2 separate regions of the Homo sapiens genome follow, and region 2 is linked to region 1. The links are contacts of gene promoters, found by promoter capture Hi-C in blood cells and fetal thymus (Javierre and others, 2016). All regions are on one chromosome and are shown on one strand. Each heading gives the region's core, a stretch centred on a gene start or on the middle of the fragment in contact. The rest is flanking DNA. Distances are from core to core; before and after follow the strand shown.

Region 1 (4,335 bases), core at 517-3,016:
AAGCTACTAGGGAGGCTGAGGCAGAAGAATCACTTGAACCCAGGAGGCGAAGGTTGCAGTGAGCTGAGATTGTGCCACTGCACTCCAACCTGGGTGACAAAGTGAGACTGTGTCTCAAAACAGCAACAACAAACAAACAAACAAACAAAAACAATGGCAATATCTGTGTGCTGAAGATTCCTACATCTCTAGCTCCAGCCCTAACCCTTCCACTGAGCTCCAGACTGACTATTTGCTGGACAGTTCCACCAGGAACTCCTACAAGTTCTTCAGGGAAACAGGACCAAACTGAACTGGTAATTAATTCTCCCCCACAGGCCTGCTCCTGTGAGTGGGCTCAGTGAATCCCGTACAGAAACCTGAGAATCACCCTGGATTCCTCCCTCTCTCCTCCTCATTTAGTCAAACCCCAGAGTCAATCAGTTCACCCCAGAGTCAATCAGTTCTGTTTTTTTACTCTTTCACCAGTTATTGCCACTGCTTTAGTTCAGGCTCTCATCCCTTTTTATTGCCTGGAATTTTTAATAGTCGCCAACATGGATTCAATGAAGGTAAATGAAGCTAATTTCACATTTTAAAAAAATGAGGTAGTTGGGACACTCGATGAAGCAAATCAAGAGATAAAGTCTCTTGTAATATTTTTTGTAGATAAGACAGGGTGGGGCAGGGGCTGCCTCCAGCTGGTTTATGGTTCCTGCGTGTACACAAGGGGGTCTGTGTGTGGGTACTGGATCTTCCCATCTTCTCCTGGGAGAGAAAGACAGGCACCCAGTGCAGATTCACGGACGTGGTCCGTTGGGCAAGCCTGGGGCTGGCTGGAAGCTGGGGCAGCTGAGGGGGACTTGCCTTCTTGCGTGGTCTGAGTCCAGTTCTGCAGCCCTTTCAAGAACAGAGGTGCAAAGCCGGAGAGAAGCAGCGGCACCAAGGGAGATGTGGAAGGCAGGCTGAAGAAGCAGAGAGAGAGAGGAGAGGACCCTGCCATTCATCTTCCCATCTCCACTGCCTTCGGTTGCCCACTCTGTCCTTCAACTACATTTGGAAATGCAATTTGAGGCTGAGAGGACCCTGGGAGGGCTATGAAGCACAAATTAAAACCAAGACAGTTGTGCCACCACCCCGTTTCTAGCCTCCTGTGACAACTCAGATGAAGAAGGGAGTGTGTGTGGCATTGAGGGAGGGACAACTCTCATTGTGAGAAAAGGAAGCAGTTTTGGCCCTTTAGTCAAAGGTCACTGGGATTTGGGTGGGGGTGGAGTGGGGTGGATCTGAGTGGAAGAAAGAGCAAAAAGGGAGTGAGGAGGTCCTCATGGGTAGCATTTGCTCTCTTCCCGGATGGATGGCAGGCCCTGGGGATTCCCCTTGGAGCGTCCCCTGGATCCCGTGAGTGCTGACTTCCTGCACAGCATCTTTACACCAGGGATGACATCCCCCTTGTTTCTTAGGCTAGGGACCCAAGGGGTAGCTTAGGAAAGGCCTTACCCCAAGAGGTGGGGTGGGAGGGAGAGCACTTGAAATGACGTCTTCCAAACAGGTCTTTGACTGTAACTACCAGGGAGAGGGCCTGGTCTTCTCAAAGGTGTTGGAGGTCATTCCTGTGAGTCCTTTGGAGGTCACAAAACCCAGTAGGGGCAGGCAAGGGGAAAGCTCACCCCTCTTACCTTTTTCCAGAGGTTACAGTTCCTATCACATTGGAATACATGGCCGCTAATCTTCCACAGGGCTGGGCAAGTGGAGATAGTGTGATCTGAGGCAATCCGCCTGAAAACTGGTTCTTTCCTCTAAATCTCGCAGAGGTTCCAGAGGACAGGGTGGGGCAGAGAGCTGGTCAGGAGGGGGAACTGAGGTCAAAGGCTGATGACCAGTTCCCAGGGTTAAGCAAAGTGTAGAGCCCAGTGTTGTTTAATTAGTAGAGAAGTTTTAAAGTTCAATCAGGCCCAGGGAAAGCCTGAGCCACCTCTCTTGCCCACACTCCCTCACTCTTCTCCTCAGCTTTATAGAAAAGGAAAAGGAGAGTATGTTCATACCCTCAAACTTGGTTAGGAAACTAACCAAGGAAACAAACTTGGTTCATACCCACCCTCTCTCATAGTTTTCTTTATGGAGAGAGGGAGAGAGAGAGAGAAATATCTAATTAGAGAAGGCAAAGAGGGACAAGCTGCTACCTTCAGGCATCTGAGTGCCAAGGTGTCCCTGGCACAGACAAGGAAAACACAATGGTTACACCTGTGGCCCACAGAGAGACCCATTCCCCAGCAGCCCTGAAGTGGTGGGACAGGGAGAGAAGAGCAGGGCCTCGGGGTGCATGCCAAGCGCGTTTCTAAGGGGTGTGAGCAGCTGGGAAATACTTAGCAAAACTCTACTGGGGGATCAGGAGACAGAATGCGGGGCAGGTGAAAAACCCACGTACAACTGCTGAAATAAAAACAAACTAAATTATATTTATGTGTATCGTTATTTTTATTAGTTATTGGGGAGATTGGGTAAATTCAAACTAGTGGAGATAAAGGGCAGGTTTGTTTACATTTCCCTCTTCTGAAATAGCCAAAAGCACCATCACAAGGACTGCAGCCACCAAGTTCACAGGGCGCATGTGCCTCCTGCTGTGTGATCAAGGACTCCTTGTAGTTGTTGTTGCAGTCATAGGCATTTTCGAGAGCTCTTCGTTCATGAGAGAGGACATCTCTCCTGAACTGAAGCTGTGTCTAAGTTCTTGGCTGATTCAGACCCTGGATCCTTTGAAGCCCTCCATGTGCAGTGTGAACAGTAGCCGAGAACTGTCCCAAAGGGCCCCAGAATGCCCAGAGGCTCATCTGTCACCCTAGATTAAAGACTATTGAAAAGTCTCCTGTTCAACCACTTGAGTTCAACAAATACACGAGTGCTGCTTGTGCCAGCAGACACTGTTCTTGGGGCTGGGATTCCATTCGGGGGAGACATACAGCAATCACATAAAGAATCAGTATTTTAGGCCAAGCGTGGTGGCTCACACCTGTAATCCCAGCACTTTGGTAGGCTGAGGCAGGTGGATCACCTGAGGTCAGGAGTTCGAGACCGGCCTAGCCAACCTGGTGAAACCCCATCTCTACTAAAAATACAAAAAATAGCTGGGCATGGTGGTGGGCACCTGTAATTCCAGCTACTCAGGAGGCTGAGGCAGGAGAATCACTTGACCCCAGGAGGCAGAGGTTGCAGTGAGCCGAGATCGTGCTATTGCACTCCAGCCTGGGTGACAGAGCAAGACTCCATCTCAAAAAAAAAAAATCAGTATTTAAAAAATAAATATGTAACGTGCCAGTCAGATGTTAATAAGGTCCATAGAGAAAACTATAGCAGGGCAAGGATATAGGAAGCAGTGGGAGGAAGTGGGGAGGGCACCATCTGAGAACACTTGGTAGGAAAGGCCTCCCTTAGGAATCATTGTTAGGAAACCAGAATGAAATGATGGAGGGGGCCATATGAATATCTTTAGGAAGAGCTGTCCAAAGAGAAATCAGAAATACAAAGACCTTGAGGTTTCAGGAACATGCTGTTGAGACCTATTGTTCCAGCTTATAGGAGTTATGAGGTTTGTGTCTTGCCAAGAAGGTCCTTGGGGGAGGGCAGATGAGGGGCCCTGCAAAAATATAGGTGATTTGGTGAACATCGCTGGAAAAGATTAGGATGCAGATACTACCAGGTCAAGGAATTAAGAACTATAACATCAGGGTTTGTGTTTAATTTGTTCATCCAGGCTGGATGCAGTGGCTCACATCTGTAATCCTAGCACTTTGGAAGGCCAAGGCTTGAGGCCAGGAGTTCAAGACCAACTGTGAGACCCCACACACGGTGAGACCCCCATCTCCAGAAAATAATAATAATAAGCTGGGCATGGTGGCATGAGCCTGTAGTCCCAGCTACTCAGGAGGCTGAGGTGGGAGGATCACTTGAGCCCAGGAATTCAGACTGCAGTGAGCTGTGATCACACCACTGCACTCCAGCCTTGGTGACAGAGTGAGCCCCTGTCTCAAATGTTAAAAATTAAATTATATATATATTTTAAAAGTGTTCTGCCAGGCGTGGTGGCTCACGCCTGTAATCCCAGCAGTTTGGGAGGCTGAGGTGGGCAGATCACTTGAGGTCAGGGGTTTGAGACCAGCCTGGCCAAGACAGTGAAACCCTGTCTCTACTAAAAAATAAAAAAAAAATTAGCTGGGCATGGTGGTATGCACCTGTAATCTCAGCTACTCAGGAGGCTGAGGCAGGAGAATCACTTGAACCCGGGAGGTGGAGGCTGCAGTGAGTCGAGATTACGCCACTGCACTCTAGCCTGGATGACAGAGCGAGACTCCATACAGG
Region 2 (4,335 bases), core at 639-3,138, 860 kb after region 1:
TTGACAGAGAACAAACAGAACAAAAAAATCCAGTTTCCTCCTTGTTCTATTTTTGTGAGCAAAATAAGTACTCATTTAAGCTTCCATCCCTTTTACTTAAAAATCCCTCTCTGTCTTCATCCTCTTCTGCTTTGCTCTTGTCTTTAATGAAGGTCTGTTCTGCCCCCATTCCAAGGCTAACTTCCTCACTATGTCCTTGATCCCATCTTTCCTGTCTCTCTTTGGAGAAGCCTGTGATGGTTAGTTAGTTCACTTATTCAACAGATATTCACTATTGACAGTCCCTGGGTTAGATGTCAGGGGATACAGAGATGACATTCTGTGTCCTGAAGTTGTCACATCTAATAGGGGAGGCACACAGACATAAGAATTCAGTGTGTTTGATCCTGGGGTTTAAAAGGGATCTTTGGGAGCCTAAAGGCAGAATGCCAAATTCATTCTGGGAAACTAGTAAACATTTTCCAAAGGTGGCATCTAACCTGAGAATAGGACATGAGGGTGAGAGTGAACAGCATGTAGAAGAGGAATGAGGAAGAATGGCTGAGGCAAGTCCTTTGCCATGGCACATTTGAGGGGGATGCGCAGGATACGATTCTGAGGGGCTTTAATTACATTTCTGCCATCAATTTATTGTGGAATTTTAATCAAATCATCTAACCTTTTAACACTTAATTTCCTAACTTATAAAATAAAGAGACAGGGAAGCATGCTCTAAATTTATGTCATGCCAGCTGTGTCAATCTGTGCTATAGGTGTGTGTATATGTGTGTATGTTTGTATGTCTTATATAACCATTTCAGTCCTTTAATGAGTAGATAAGAATCTTTGTATAATTTGCATGTTTGTTGTTTAAGTGCTTGGCTAAATTTATCTTTGCCTCTTTTACAAAAAAAAAAGTGTTTACAGAACAATATAATAAAATTAGGAGCAAAGGAATATTTTATTTGTTATACTTCAAGATGAATACCACCAAAATGTTTTCATTTCAACTTAAAAATCTCTTTATAACCATACTTGAATATAAACAACCCATTTGTTCTACATTAGTGAAATGTTAGTGTGTGTATTTTCTAGCACTCACACCTCTGCACTGTGATCATTCTATCAGGTATTTCTAGATATCCAAGCAATGTGTTGGATCTATGTAAAAAAAATCTGACAGCTACCATCAATAACAATATAATTGTGTAGCATTTAAACAGTTTGTAATGAGCTCTCAAATGCATTTTTTAAATGTTTAATAAATAAAATTAATAGTAAGACACCTATCATTTATTGAGCACTTAAAATGTATCTGATGCTGTGCTAAGCACTTTAAAACTAATCTTCACGGCCGGGCACATTGGCCCACGCCTATAATCCCAGCACTTTGGAAGGCCGAGGCAGGTGGATCACGAGGTCAGAAGTTCAAGACCAGCCTGGCCAAGATGGTGAAACCCCATCTCTACTAAAAATACAAAAAATTAGCCGGGCCTGGTGGTGGGTGCCTGTAATCCCAGCTACTCGAGAGGCTGAGGCAAAGAATTGCTTGAAGCCGGGAGGCAGAGGTTGCAGTGAGCTGAGATCACGCCACTGCACTACAGCCTGGACGACAGAGTCAGACTGTCTCAAAAAAAAACAAAAAACAAAACAAAAAAAAATAACTAATCTTCACTACCTTTAATTTTGTTTATTGTAGTATAATATACGTAACATAAAATGTACAATTTTGGTCAGGGCAGTGGCTCAGGCCTGTAATCCCAGCACTTTGGGAGGCCAAGGTGGGTGGATCACCTGAGGTCAGGAGTTCGAGATCACCCTGGCCAACATGGAGAAACCCCATTTCTACTAAAAATACAAAATTAGCGGGTGTTGTGGCGTGTGCCTGGCTACTCAGGAGACTGAGATGGGAGAATCGCTTGAACCCGGGAGGCGGAGCTTGTGGTGAGCTGAGATCGCACCACTGCACTCCAGCCTGGGCAACAGAGCAAGACTCCATCTCAAAAAAAAAAAAAAAAAAAAAAAAAGTACAGTTTTAACCATTCCTAAGTACACAGTTCAGTGACATTAGGTAAATTGACATTGTTGTGCAACTATCACCACCATCCATCTCCAGATCTTTTTTTCATCTTGCAAAACTGAAACTCTTGCACCTGTTAAATAGTAACTCCCCATTCCTTTCTCCCCTTAGCCCCTGGCAGTCACCATTCTGCTTTCTGTCTCTATGAATTTGGCTACTCTAGGTACCTCATGTAAGTGGAATTATATCGTATTTGTCTTATCTCTGGCATATTTCACTTAGCATAGTGTATGACCCTTAATTTTTTTACTGACATTAATTAAAAGAAATCCTAATTTTAACAATAATTCTATTACTGTTAATATTGTATTACTATTTTATCAGTGATTCTATTACTGTTAATACTGTATTGACTTGTTGGTATGAATCAATATGCTCATTTTACAGATTAGGAAACTAAGACTTATAAAAAGTTAAAAAACTTGGTTAAAGTCATTCAGTTAGGCAAATGACATACCACAATCACAACTAGGCCTGTCTTACTACAGAGGCAGTGTTCTTAACTTCTAAGCTATGGGGTGTGTGTGTGTGTGTGTGTTTATTTTAAACCTTACAATTGCTCTGTGAACAAGAGATTATATCCTACTTGATACTCAAATCCCAGGCATGGCGACATATGCCTGTAATCCTAGCTACTTGGAAGGCTAAGGTGGAAAGATCACTTGAGCCCATGAGTGCAAGACTAATCTGAACAACATAGTGAGACCCGTTATCTAAAAAGTAATAAACAAATAAATAAATAAAAGCCAGGTGGCTCTCACTAAAAATTCCATGCCTTTTTACGTTATACAGCAGGAGACCCTTAAATTATAGTGAAATCAGTCTCCATTCCACAAATCTATGTTGACATCATACTATGAGTGAAAACAGGTTTTTTAATTCAAGTTGTTTGAATTAAGCATATTCTATTGTATGTTCAAAGATAGTTGTCCCAATTTAAAAATGTCCTTGGTTGAATAGGATAGAAGCAGAGCCAGAGCAACCAAGAGCCATTGCTATATGAACAAATAATTGAATTTAGGCTAATGAAAATGAACTCACTGTCAAAAATCATCATGAAATTAAAATATTCTCTGCTCTTGACTGGCTGGAATAATATTTGATTCCTGAGTTCTGCCTTTCCACTTATTCTGTCATAATCTTTGAGATATATGAAGTCATCCCTGAATACTGTTTAATGCTCTGGTTAAACTCCATTTCACTCTGACCAATCAGAGTATGTGAGCTGATCATAAGGAGCTATTATCAAGAGACTTGTCAGAGGATTCACTGCCCAATATGTTTTTATGACCCTTTTTATCTGTAAGAGTTGCTGGTATTGCTTTTTAGAATGAAATAGACTAATTTTGTCCATTACAGTGTTGATAGTTTGATAACTCACTGTGGGAATCAATTGATCTTATCAGAATAATATAACCAGTAGAGGAAATGTAACTGAAGCATATACAGTTTTATTTAATATATTGTTTATGCAGGTTGAGAAAAGGCTGAAATATGCTCCTTTTGCTAGAAATGTAATAACTAAAACGCCCATAGCCTTGATCTTTTTTATCTTTTATTGCTTTTCCTTGACTAAGAGAATTTGGTTTTGGTAAAGCTAAATGAATTTAGAATAAAGTCATTTATTTGTGTCATACGTAAGCTTGATTAAGAAGGTTTTTATGGCCAAGAGCCATGGCTCATGCCTGTAATCCCAGCACTTTGAGAAGCTGAGGCAGGAGGATCACATGAGTCTTGGAGTTCAAAACCAGCCTGGGCAACATAGTGAGATCTTGTCTCTACAAAAAATAAAAATAAAAAAAATAGCAAGGCATAGTGGCCTGGCATTGCACTCCGGTGATCACACCATTGCACTCCAGCCCTGGGTGACAGAGTGAGATCCTGTCTCAAAAAAACAAAGGAAGATTTTTTTTTTTTCTATTTAGAAAGAGAGTGCATAAAAGAGAAACCATAGGCAGGGACAGTACCTCATGCCTGTAATCTCAGCACTTTGGCAGGGCAAGGCAAGCGGATCGCTTGAGTCTAGGAGTTTGAGAGAAGCCTGGGCAACATAGAGAGACCTCATCTCTCCAAAAAATACAAAAATTAGCCAGGCACGATGGCACGTGCCTGTAGTCTCAGTTATTTGGGAGGCTGAGATGGGAGGATCACTTGGGCCTGAGGGGTTGAGGCTGCAGTGAGCCATGATTGTGCACTGCACTCCAGTATGGGCAACAGAGCAAGACCCTGTCTCAGAAAAAGAAAGAAACCATAAAAAGTATAATGGCTTGAAAAAG

Evidence for each region. Contacts are between HindIII fragments. The CHiCAGO score rates a contact against its expected background, and 5 or more counts as called.
Region 2: a fragment that was not itself captured here is called in contact with the fragment with the promoter of SERPINC1 in region 1 in 1 of 17 cell types (neutrophils); the score reaches 5.4 in neutrophils.

What each region holds. Positions count from the first base shown.
Region 1 is chr1:173,915,561-173,919,895 of GRCh38, forward strand. It overlaps SERPINC1 (serpin family C member 1), which reads right to left and starts at 1,767. Exons shown (of 7, transcript NM_000488.4): 1 at 1,659-1,767. The coding sequence starts at 1,699. LOC124904457 (a long non-coding RNA gene) reads left to right here and starts at 940. Exons shown (of 2, transcript XR_007066739.1): 1 at 940-1,380. The HindIII fragment of the contact is 6,307 bases long and covers 1-4,335 here.
Region 2 is chr1:174,770,587-174,774,921 of GRCh38, forward strand. The region is part of intron 18 of RABGAP1L (RAB GTPase activating protein 1 like); the gene reads left to right. Among named protein-coding and RNA genes, the nearest start is that of RABGAP1L-AS1, 180 kb to the right of the region's middle. The HindIII fragment of the contact is 3,621 bases long and covers 79-3,699 here.